Linked DNA regions of Homo sapiens: region 2 is linked to region 1. The links are contacts of gene promoters, found by promoter capture Hi-C in blood cells and fetal thymus (Javierre and others, 2016). All regions are on one chromosome and are shown on one strand. The core of a region is centred on a gene start or on the middle of the fragment in contact, and the rest is flanking DNA. Distances in the headings are between cores, read along the strand shown.

Evidence for each region. The method cuts DNA at HindIII sites, captures the fragments that hold promoters and counts their contacts. A CHiCAGO score of 5 or more calls a contact.
Region 2: the fragment with the promoter of TRIM63 here is called in contact with the fragment with the promoter of CNKSR1 in region 1 in 10 of 17 cell types (neutrophils, fetal thymus, naive CD8 T cells and 7 more); the score reaches 9.3 in neutrophils.

Annotation. Positions count from the first base shown.
Region 1 is chr1:26,175,856-26,181,893 of GRCh38, reverse strand. CNKSR1 (connector enhancer of kinase suppressor of Ras 1) reads right to left here and starts at 4,403. Exons shown (of 21, transcript NM_006314.3): 1 at 4,295-4,403; 2 at 1,284-1,441; 3 at 998-1,179; 4 at 1-37. The coding sequence starts at 4,346. The HindIII fragment of the contact is 21,071 bases long and covers 1-6,038 here.
Region 2 is chr1:26,065,275-26,071,100 of GRCh38, reverse strand. It overlaps TRIM63 (tripartite motif containing 63), which reads left to right and starts at 3,471. Exons shown (of 9, transcript NM_032588.4): 1 at 3,471-3,765; 2 at 4,661-4,833. The coding sequence starts at 3,607. The HindIII fragment of the contact is 10,936 bases long and covers 446-5,826 here.

The DNA of each region.
Region 1 (6,038 bases), core at 3,154-5,653:
GCATGCTGAGAAATCATTTAAGTGGGAGAAGAGGTACCTGGCAGGGGAAGAATAGCACAGTGGTTAAGGGACTATGCTTAACCACTCAGAGCCAATTACTCACCAATTACTCACCTCAGAGACTTGGGGATAATACCTGCTCTGATGGGTTTTGGTTTAGAGTAAAGGAGATGATTGAGACATCTAAAGAGATTAGCACAGGACTTATTTGTCATGTGCCTACCACATGCCAAGCCCTGTTCTAGGCACTGGGGAAACAGACAGTAAAGACATCATACATCAATATCAATTTAACTTTGGCTGTAATGAGTATCATGAAACATTGGATAATGAGTTTATAATAAGTTATTATTTATTATTTATTAATAGTATAGCTTGGAGAGTGTACAACAGGGAAGGCTTCCCCGAGATGACATTTGAGGTGGGGTCTGTAGGACAAGCAGCAGCCAGTGCACAGGGTTGGGGAGGCTCTCCATTCAGTGGTTGTTGATGAGATCGATTATTACAAGCTGGAGGGTGGGGTGGGAACTCTGGCATCCCAGTGCCCCTGCACAGGTGGATTAATCCCTCTGCCCTGCTCCACCATATCTTTTTTTTTTTTTTTTTTTTTTTTGAGAGGGAGTCTCACTCTGTCGCCCAGGCTGGAGTACAGTGGCATGATCTCGGCTCACTGGAACTTCCACCTCCCAGGTTTGAGTGATTCTCCTGCCTCAGCCTCCCCAGTAGCTGGGATTACAGGTGCGCACCACCACACCTGGCTAATTTTGTATATTTTTGGTAAAGATGGGGTTTCACCATGTTGGCCAGGCTGGTCTCCAACTCCTGACCTCAAGTGATCTGCCCGCTTCGGCCTCCCAAAGTGCTGGGATTACAGACCTAAGCCACCACGCCTGGCTCACCATATCTGAACAAGAGCCAAGATCTGTTTTTCTCTCCCACGCCCTGAAGGAGGCCAAGGATGACAATAGTCCCTCACTCGTCACCCCAACCCGGGTACCTGCTGAGCCAGAAGAGGAGGGCGTCAGCTTCATGCAACAGCTCCACAGCTGCACAGAGGACATCAATAGGGGTCTTGGCACAGTCCCCCAGGCAGCCTTGGACTATGCTCTGGAAGTCATGGGTTGCCCCCAGAAGTCCCTCTGTCAGGCTTTGCAGGTTCTCTGTCTGTAGCCTGGAGCTCTGTGCCAGAAAGAGGGCAAGTCACCTCCCTGGCAGCAGCCAGCCCCCCATCACACCCCCCAGGTTGGTGGAAGCTGCAGCCAGTGTGACCAGCATTCACTCACCAGGGCCTGGAGCTGTTCCACCCCGCCCAGGATGAGCTCCTGGTGTCCCAGAGACCGCACAGCCAGAGCCTCGAGGCTTTGGGGGCAGAGCTGGAGCAGGTTCTTGCCAGGCAGCTGCCAGTCCTCAAAGGGATAGTCCTGCAGGGAGTCGTCAAGACCTGGAGGGAGAGTAAGGCTCAGCTCGGGGAAGCAGAGGTGTCAGGACCTTTTGGGATGGTTCTTCATGCCTGCAAAGCTCTTTTCCCTCTAGTCTAACCCTAATGACAACTCTGACACCCAGGCTGTTCTGCCCATTTCACAGATGAGGCCACTGAGTTGAGAAGCAGGAAAGTATAGGACATGGGTTCTTAAAAGTGGCCCCCAGACCAGCAGCAGCAGACTCACCGGAGAACTTGTTAGAAATGCAAATTATCAGGCCTCACCCCACACCTGCTGAATCAGAAACTCTGAGGTTGGGGCCCAGCAGTCTTTTTTTTGTTTTTGTTTTGTTTTTTCTTTTTGAGACAGGGGCTTGAGACACAGTCACGGCTCACTGCAGCCTTGACCTCCTAGGCTCAATCCATCCTCCCACCTCAGCCTCCCAAGTAGCTGGGACTACAGGCACACACCACCACACCCAGCTAATTTTTGTATTTTTTGCAGAGGTGGGATTTCACCATGTTGCCCAGGCTAGTCTCGAACTCCTGGGCTCAAGCAATTTGACTGCCTCAGTCTCTGAAAGTGCTAGAATTACAGGTGTGAGCCACGACGCCCAGCCAGCAGTTTGTATTTTAATGCAGGTGACTGTGATGCTCCCTTAAGTTTGAGAACTAATGATACAGGGGATAAGAACAAGAGGCTATGGAGTCACTGAGACACTGTGAACACTTGAGCAAGTAATAGCACTGCTCTGTGCCCAGTTTTCTCACCTGTAATGTGAGAATAATAAAAGTACCTACCTTCTAATCATGTGTGTATTGAATGACACAACATATGTCAAGGCCTTGGCCACTGTCTGGTTCGTGGGAGACAGCCAATAATAGCCATCATATTATTATTGCCAGACTTTACCATGACCTACAGGCCCTGTATGATTAGGCTACTACCTCCCTTTCCAGCATCATATCCTGAAGAGCCCCCTAAACTCAACATTTCAGATGCACAGAGCTAATTCCTTGCAGCTCCTGGAACACCCTTTTACCTCAGCGTCCTTGCAAGTGCTATTCCTCCTGCTGGCGTTGCTCTTCTATCTCCTTCACTTCCTTTTTCATCTAACTTCCTCCAGGAAGCCTTCCATAACTTCCCAGGCTGAGTGGGATGGAGGGCTCTCCTCTTGTTCCCACTGCCCCTGAGCCTCCACAAACCCCTGCACTTGACCATCGGTCTTTCCCATTTTATCACAGGCTCTTCAAAGATCAGGCCTTAGATAACCATTTGTCTCTAACCCCCGGCCTGTGCCTGGACAAGGTAGGCACTGAAAAATAAGAAAAGTGTCTATTGAGGGCTTACTATGTGCTATGCAAATCTATAAGAGCTTTACACATATTAACACATTTGATTCTCACTGCATTTCTAGGAGGTAAAGACTATCATTATCCTGCTTACAGATGGGAAAACTGACACAGAGGTTAAGTAGCTTGCTCACTCTTCGAAGGAATTCTTCCCCTTCTAAGCCAGGCTCCTTCACTGGGGGAGGTGTGTGTGTGTGTTCCCTGTGTCACATTGAGAGCACTGGACTGGGAGTTCATGAACCTATCACTCCCTGGCTATGGGCCCCTGAGCCACCTCCTTCCTGCACGGTGACTGTATTGGGCTGGTGCCCTCCCAATAGACCCAGGCATTGAGCTACAAATGAACTATGTCATGATTGTCTCACTTTGTCGACTTCATAAGGTCAGAGTTGCCTTTCCCATTTGATGGACAGAAAAACTAAGACCTATGGTCACAGAGCTGGCAAGCGGTGGGGGTGGGCCTGGAATCCAGCCTGGGAGTCTGAACCCAGCCCTGAATTCCTGCCCTTACCCGGGCTGGTCCTCCTGAGCCTGTCTCTAGTGCGCTCCAGCTCCCCACTCTGGGAGGGGTGTCCTGACTGCCTGCTCCTGGTCGCACTGTGTGTCAGGAGGCCCTTCCTTCTCTGAGTCTGCCTGTGGGGTGTGTTGCTTCCCATCTGTGTGGGCTCGCTGAGCCTGGACAGCACCTTGCCCCTTGGATAGGAGCCCCAGGGTGGGGCTGTGTCAACCTCTTCAGTCTGGCCTAGGGCTTCTGCTTCTGTCACTAGGAGCTCAGGGTGTGGAGCGGGGAAAATGACACCAGAGACTGAGCAAATCATTTCCTGGCTCTGTGTGTCAGTTTCTGACTCTAAGAAACGGATTTAACAACAGCCCACTGGCCCTGGGGCCAGGGAAGATGAAGGAGATACAGTGGGTGTGGGCCTGTCAGGCCTCCCTCCTGTTTTCATGACACCGCCTCCCCATTATCACCCTAGAGGCCTCTTGGGCTACTGCCATGATGAGGGGCCCCCTTCTGGGTCCTTGGGCCCCCCAGGGTCATCTCATCTGTCTCTCTGCCCAGCACGGTTCCTGGAACATGTTAGGTGCTCTGTAAATATTTGTTGACTGACTGACCGACTGATAGAGCCCGCAGTTTATTATTTTTTTTTTTCTTTTGAGCTGAATCTCGCTCTGTCGTCCAGACTGGAGTGCAGCGGTGCAATCTCGGCTCACTGTAACCTCTGCCTCCTGGGTTCAAGCGATTCTCCTGCCTCAGCCTCCCAAGTAGCTGGGATTACAGGCACCTGCCACCACCCCCAGATAATTTTTGTATTTTTAGTAGAGACGGGGTTTCACCATGCTGGTCTTGAACTCCCGACCTCAGGTGACCCACCCACCTTGGCTTCCCAAAGTGCTGGGATTACAGGTGTGAACCAGCGCACCCAGTCCGCAGATTTTTTTTCCTTTTCCTCTCCTCCCGCTTCCCGGTGGGACACCACACCTAGTCCCCTTCAAGCCCAACTCTACCCCAGCCCCACCCACCTCTCAGCCAAGTTGCCACCTTTCCGGGGGTCCAGGTCTCTACCGGTTCCATGGCCCAGCTCTGCCAGCTCGAATCAGCTCCTGTTTTGCCCTGCTGTCGCCGGAATTTCCGCTCCCAGAGCCCAGGCCTAAGGAGGGGCCGGGCTGGGTCCTGGGCGGAGCCTACTGCATACCTGGGCTCACACAGACGGCAAGATGAGGCACTGCGACAGCCATTGGCCCACGCCCGTCCGCCTCCTGCCCGGCCCTTCAGACATCCTAGGGCTCTGGCATCTCGCGCCTGCTAGGGGGCAGTGCCACTGGCCTCATATCGCGGGGTGGGACCCTGACCCTTGGGCTCCTCAAGAAAAAGCCACAAGAGGAGCGCTGAAATCAGTAGCAAAGCACAGAGGCTAGGGGGCCAGGTCCCTGGGTGCCTAGGCCAGCTCTTGTTAGCTGTGTGACCTGGGGCTGACCCTAACTTCTGCGCCTCAGTTTCTGGGTCTGTAAAAGAGATATAATAGACCGTACTTCAAAGGGCAGCTGTGCACAGTATCTGAATGGCTTGAAAACATTTAGAACTGGGGTGTTTAGCCTCCCTTGGATTTTGCAGTATGGACTCTGGCATCTGGTGAGGCCTGTGAATGCTTTCTCAGAATAGCTGCTTATAAAGGCATAAAACAGGCCGGGCGCGGTGGCTCACGCCTGTAATCCCAGCACTTTGGGAGGCCGAGGTGGGCGGATCACTTGAGATCAGGAGTTCAAGACCAGCCTGGCCAATATGGTGAAACACCATCTCTACTAAAAATACAAAAAATTAGCTGGGCGTAGTGGGTGCTTGTAATCCCAGCTACTCAGGAGGCTGAGGCAGGAGAATCCCTTGAACCCAGGAGGGGGAGGTTCCAGTGAGCCAAGATCGTGCCACTGCACTCCAGCCTGGGCAACAGAGCAAAACTCTGTATTATAAATAAATAAATAAATGCACAAAACAAAATGCTTAGGATTACAATGAGAACAATTATCAAAACTATATTTAAAAACAAATTTGGCCGGGCATGGTGGTTCACGCCTGTAATTCCAGCACTTTGGAAGGCCAAGGCGGGTGGATCATGAGGTTAAGAGATGGAAACCAGCCTGCCCAACATGGTGAAACCCCGTCTCTACTAAAAATACAAAAATTAGCTGGGTGTGGTGGTGCACGCCTGTAGTCACAGCTACTCAGGAGGCTGAGGCAGGAGAATCGCTTGAACCTGGGAGGCGGAGGTTGCAGTGAGCTGAGATCACGCCTCTGCACTCCAGCCTGGCAACAAAGCAAGACTCCGTCTCAAAAAAAAAACCCACAAAAAACAAAAAAAAAATTTGGAGCTGGGGAGTGCTGGCACACGACTGTAGTCCCAGCTACTCGAGAGGTTGAGAGGTTGAGCGGGGGAGTATCACTCAAGCCCAGGAGTCAAAGCCACCCTGGGCAACATAGCAGGAGCCCATCTCAAAAAAATAAAACCAGAAATTTATATTATGTGTTTACTAACATTAATAAGACTGGCCGAAAGTTAAATTTTTCTTTTTTAATGACCTCAGTGTGTTGTCGACCAGCTTGAATAAGGACATTAAACTGTGGGGTGGTCTTTGACGCCCCTCCTCTTACATATTGATCAGCAAACAACTAAAAACAGGGAATGCTGGGCCGGGCATGGTGGCTCACGCCTATAATCGAGACGGGCGGATTATGAGGTCAGGAGATCGAGACCATCCTGGCTAACATGGT
Region 2 (5,826 bases), core at 2,222-4,721, 110 kb after region 1:
GAGGAGCTAGGTATCGGGGAAGATGGTGTATTCTGGCTGGAGTATGATGAATTTGAGATACTATTAGAACATCCCAGTAGAAATCTCCAACAAATCTTTAGCTTAGGGGAGAGAGGAGAAGTCGGAACTGGAATTAGAGAGTTGAGAATCATCAGCATATGGGAGTCGGAATCATGCAGGTTTATGAGGTGCTTACTGCTTCAAGTAACAGAGTAATTACACTATAATGGCATTTGTAATCTCACGTCTTAAGTAGTCAAGAGACAGGCAGCTCTAGGGTTGGATAAATTGGCAACAAAATGATGGCATCTCTAACCCAGGTGCCTCCTATGGTTCCTCTATGCTATCCTCAGGGTGTTGACATCATCCTCAGCCTTGTCCCCTTGTGGTTGCAAGATAGCTGCTCTACCCTCTCACAGCCCCATTCAAAGGTATGGACAAAGCTTTCTTCTTGCACATTCATTTTTATTGTGGAGGAAATCCTTTATCTTTAGCCAACAGACATATCCTTGGGTCTCATTGACCATAACTGCATCATTAGGCAAAAGAGAATGGGGTTGTATGATAGGCTTAAACTGTGTGTGACTCATCTCCTGAGGCAGTGGAGAGGGCCATCTTCCTGGAGCACAATGCTGCCAATGCCTGAACTAAACTGAGGTCCCATGAGCAAGGAAGAAGAAGTGGCCTTTTTTCAGTCAGTGTTGACTTGACCTAAACACAGTTCAATAGAGTCTACATGAGGAGCTTGGGTTCCTAAGTCAAGCATATTTGGGTTCATGTCCTAGAGCCACCTCGTGCTATCGGTGGGACCTCATACAAGTTATTTTACCTGTGTGCCTGAGTTTCCTCACTTGTGGAATGGGGATATTATGGGTCTTTTGTTATTGGCTATTGAGATGGTAAAATGAAATAATGCATACAAAGCATTTAGCACAATGCATAGCACATAGTAAGTGCTCAGCAAAACCTAAGTGCTCAGCAAAATTTTGGGGGGACAACTCTCTCCTCGAAATCCTCCAGCCCTTTGTTTTTAAGGCCTCTTCTTTTTTCTGTAACTTGTCCCTCTTCTTCTCCCATTTCCTCTCTTCCAAGGTTTGCTTCTCTGCTCTATGTCTTGTCTCATTGCTCCCATCATTCCTCTTTCCTGAAATCCTTCATACTCCTCCTGAGTATTCCACAGCCTCTTAGGCTCATCTTGGGCCCTGATACCACTGCTCCATATCTCTGCCCCATCGCCTTGGACCAGATGACCCCACAGTCCTTTCATTAGATGCTACCTTAAAAACAGCTACTGGAGGCCAGGTACAGTGGCTCACGCCTGTAATCCCAGCACTTTGGGAGGTCGAGGCAGGTGGATTGCCTGAGGTCAGGAGTTCGAGACCAGCCTGGCTAACATGGTGAAAACCTGTCTCTATTAAAAATACAAAAATTAGTCGGGTGTCATGACACATGCCTGTAGTCCCAGCTACTCAGGAGGCTGAGGCAGGAGATTCACTTCAACCTGGGAGGCGGAGGTTGCAGTGAGCTGAGATGGCGCCACTGCACTCCAGCCTCTGGGCAACACAGTGAAACTACATCTCGGGAAAAAAAAAAAAAAAAACCAGCCACTGGAACTGCTCTAATGACTTCTACTTGCCAACGTGGAAGATGTCCTAAAATACATGGAGAAAAGTTAAAATGTGTGCAGCGAGCTGAGGGACGCCTTCTAAGTGTCCAGGCAGGGCTTTGTGGCACCGCATGAGGGGTTTCCCTTTCTTTCTTTCTTTTTTCTTTTTCTTTTTTTTTTTTTTTTGGAGACAGAGTCTCACTCTATCACCGGGCTGGAGTGCGGTGGTGCAATCTCGACTCACCGCAACCTCCTCTTCCTGGGTTCAAACGATTCTCCTGCCTCAGCCTACTGAGTAGCTGGGATTATAGGCACCTGCCATCATACCCAGCTAATTTTTGTATTTTTAGTAGAGACAGGGTTTCACCATGTTGGCCAGGATGGTCTCCATCTCCTGACCTCGTGGTCTGCCCACCTCGACCTCCTAAAGTGCTGGGTTTACAGGCGTGAGTCACTGTGCCCTCTGGGTTTTTCCTTTCTATCTCCCTTCCTGGGCTGTGAGTTTCTTGGGGCAGGGAAACAGATCACTCATCCATCTGTCACGTTGTGATGTATACTAGTTACCTGATGTATACTAGTACTCAGAAAAATGTCTGATGAATGAATAAAATTTCTGTCTTTGCCACTTATTTTCTTTCTTTTTTGTTTTGTTTTGTTTTGTTTGGAGATGGCGTTTCACTCTTGTCACCCAGGCTGGAGTGCAGTGGCGCGATCTCAGCTCACTGCAACCTCCACCTCCTGGGTTCAAGTGATTCTCCTGCTTCAGCCTCCTGAGTAGCTGGGATTACAGGCGCGTACCACCACACCCAGCTAAGTTTTGTGTTTTTAGTAGAGACAGGGTTTTACCATGTTGGCCAGGCTAGTCTCGAACTCCTGACCTCAAGTGATCCACCTGCCTCAGCCTTCCAAAGTGCTGGGATTACAGGTGTGAGACACCACGCCCGGCTGCCACTTACTTTCCAACTGACTTTGAATATAATCCTTTTCTTCTCTAGTCCCATTTCAAAATCTGTAAGATGAGGGGACTGGACTGTGTTTCAAAGGAGGCTTTTCAGCACTAAGTGAAATAAGTGGCCGAGGGATGGAGGATGGGCTGGTTGGAGTGGGGGTCTCCATCATCTCCAGCAAAATGCTGTGCTGAAGTCTGAGGCAGAGGGATGGGCTCAGAGAGAGGGGCTGCCCGACCCTTCCATCTAGGAGCTGCCCAGGACTCCAGAGGAGGGGATGGAATTGATTTAGGTCAGTGAGGGGTTGCGTGGGGCTGGGAGGGGGTTGAGGTTGGGAGGCTGAAGGAGGAGACTCCCTTCAACCTGGGAGGTGGAGGTTGCAGTGAGCAGAGATCGTGCCACTGCACAATCCTTTCTATCTCCCTTCCTGGGCTGTGAGTTTCTCGGGGCAGGGAAACAGATCACTCATCCATCTGTCACGTTGTGATGTATACTAGTTGCCTGATGTATATACTAGTACTCAGAAAAATGTCTGATGAATGAATAAAATTCATTCATCGAACATTTTCATCATAGCATTGGCTATTAACCCCTTGAATCCCCGTGGCTCACTTGCTGGGTCCCATCCCTGACCCACTAGCCTGGTGCCGGGGGGAGACCAATTTCTGGAGGAAGCTCTGGGTACCCAGTCTTGCCCTAAGCCTGCCTCTGAACAGGCTGTTCTTGTTTATGACCCCCGTCCCAGCAGAATAGTGATTGCTCATCCCTGCATGTGATTTGAGAGGGCCAGTCTTTCAGGCCTGGAGGAAACTCAAGCCCCACCAGCCGCTTGGCATCGGAATGCTCAGCTGGTCCCCTCCTGGGGCTCATGTGACCAAGATCTAGCTATAAATATCAGAGGGGCCTCAGACCAAGACAGAATTCGGGCACCAGGAGAAGGAAGCCAACAGGATCCGACCCGGTGTTTTGTGACAAAGGCAAGACCCCCAGGTCTACTTAGAGCAAAGTTAGTAGAGGAGGCAGCTAGGCGTGGCTCTCATTCCTTCCCACAGAATGGATTATAAGTCGAGCCTGATCCAGGATGGGAATCCCATGGAGAACTTGGAGAAGCAGCTGATCTGCCCTATCTGCCTGGAGATGTTTACCAAGCCAGTGGTCATCTTGCCGTGCCAGCACAACCTGTGCCGGAAGTGTGCCAATGACATCTTCCAGGTAAGTGCCGGGTGCAGCTTCATTTGGGGTCCCCAGGTGGCTACTTGGCTTCCCTGTGATGAAACCCTTCTCCCTTAGACTTCCAACCTGGACAGCCTCTTTCCCCTTGGAAGTGAACCCCTGCAGAGGCCTCTGGACAGGGCTGAGAGGGGGCTGGGAGGCGGCTCTGGCTGCTGCGGTTCTTCTCCATAACACAAGTTTCCCCTCCCTGCCCTGCCCACAGCTCCCCCACCCCTGCCCTGAGCACTGCTGTTGACTCTCCAATCAAGAGTCAAATGCCTCAAGTGATAAGCGGGGTAGGCAGGGACAGGAGAGAGAAACCAGACCCCTGGGGCTGGAGCCAGGTCCTGGTGGCAAGAGGCCCAGAGCTTTGGGAGGAGGGTGTCAGGGAGGCAGTGGGCAGTAGAGGCATCTTCCCTTTTGAGGCTGTTCCCTATGATATGGGGGCAGAAGGGGCTCCAACTCCCCGAGAAAGGAAGGGGGTAGATGTCCTGGCTGGGAGGCAGGATGCGAGGTTCCCCATGGACACTTTACAAAATGTTCTTTCACGATATTATCTTTAAAGTAGCAGCCTTAGGAGCTTGCTCTCATTGTAATACCTATTTCATAAGTGGGCAAACTGAGGCCTACACAGATAAGGTTGCTTGCCCAAAATCACTCAGAGAATAAACATGACTTGAACCCAGGTCTCCTGCCTCCCCATCCTGACGATTGCTTAGCTGCTTCTCAGGTGCTCTGTGTGTGAGGACTGGTTCTCATCACAGTCTGCAGAGCTCCAGGTTGTTAGGTTTGACGGGGGTGGTTCGGATAGGCAGAGGAAAGGATAAGAGGAGATTAGAAAAGAGAAGGGCTAAGTAGGGAGCCCAGGCCTCACCTTGACCTTTGCCACCTGCAGGCTGCAAATCCCTACTGGACCAGCCGGGGCAGCTCAGTGTCCATGTCTGGAGGCCGTTTCCGCTGCCCCACCTGCCGCCACGAGGTGATCATGGATCGTCACGGAGTGTACGGCCTGCAGAGGAACCTGCTGGTGGAGAACATCATCGACATCTACAAACAGGAGTGCTCCAGGTCGGTTCTCGTGCCTGCTGGGGGCCCGCCCTCCTTCCCAGCCATGCTGTGCCTAGATCCCCCACGCTCCTTCCCCCTCCTTCATCTGCTCAGGATCCAGGCCTCTAGCTGGACTAGCTACACAAGCCATTCAGAGACAGGACTGGAGACCCATACACCCCAACCCAGCTCTCAGGATTGCTCAGCGGATGGGAAGGGGCCCAGACATTAGGCTGCCCTTCCAGGCAATACCAAGACAGAGACTGGGGGAAAGATGAGATGTGAGAGGGAGAGAAAGGCCCTGGGGCCAGCTAAGTGGCTCTGGTCAGCAGAGAAAATGCCCGGTGAGAAACAGCCAGGTTGTCTATAAGGATAGCAACAGCTACTCTCCCGTGTGCCATGAGGAACAGCGTCAGGCACTGGGAATGCTTCATCTAAGTACCTCCCAATAACTCTGTGAATCAGGCATGACTTTATTATCCTCATTTCACAGATGAGGAAACTGAGGCTCAAGAAGTGAAATCAATTAGCTAAGGTTTCCCAGCTGGGAAGTGAAAGAGCTGGGAGTTGACCCAGTCAATCTAGCTCTGAGTCTTCCTGCTAATAAAATAGCAGCTCATTCATAGGCAGAATGTGTGAGTGGTGGAGGTTGTGAAGGGTTGGCCTCAAACTGGGGAGAGAGGGCCAGGCATGGTGGCTCATGCCCATAATCCCAACACTCTGGGAGGCCAAGGTGGGATGATTGTTTGAGGCCAGGAGTTCAAGACAAGTCAGGGCAACATAGTGAGACCCTGTTTCTACAAAGTTTAAAAACTAGCTGGGCGTGGTGGGGCATGCCTGTAGTCCCAGCTCTTCAGGAGAATTGTTGAGCCAGGGAGGTCAAGGCTGCAGAGCCATGATTGTGCTACTGCACTCCAGCCTGGGTGACAGTGAGACCATGCCTCAAACAGACAAAAACACTGAGAGGCCGGGTGCGGTGGCCCACACCTGTAATCCCAGCACTTTGGGAGGCCA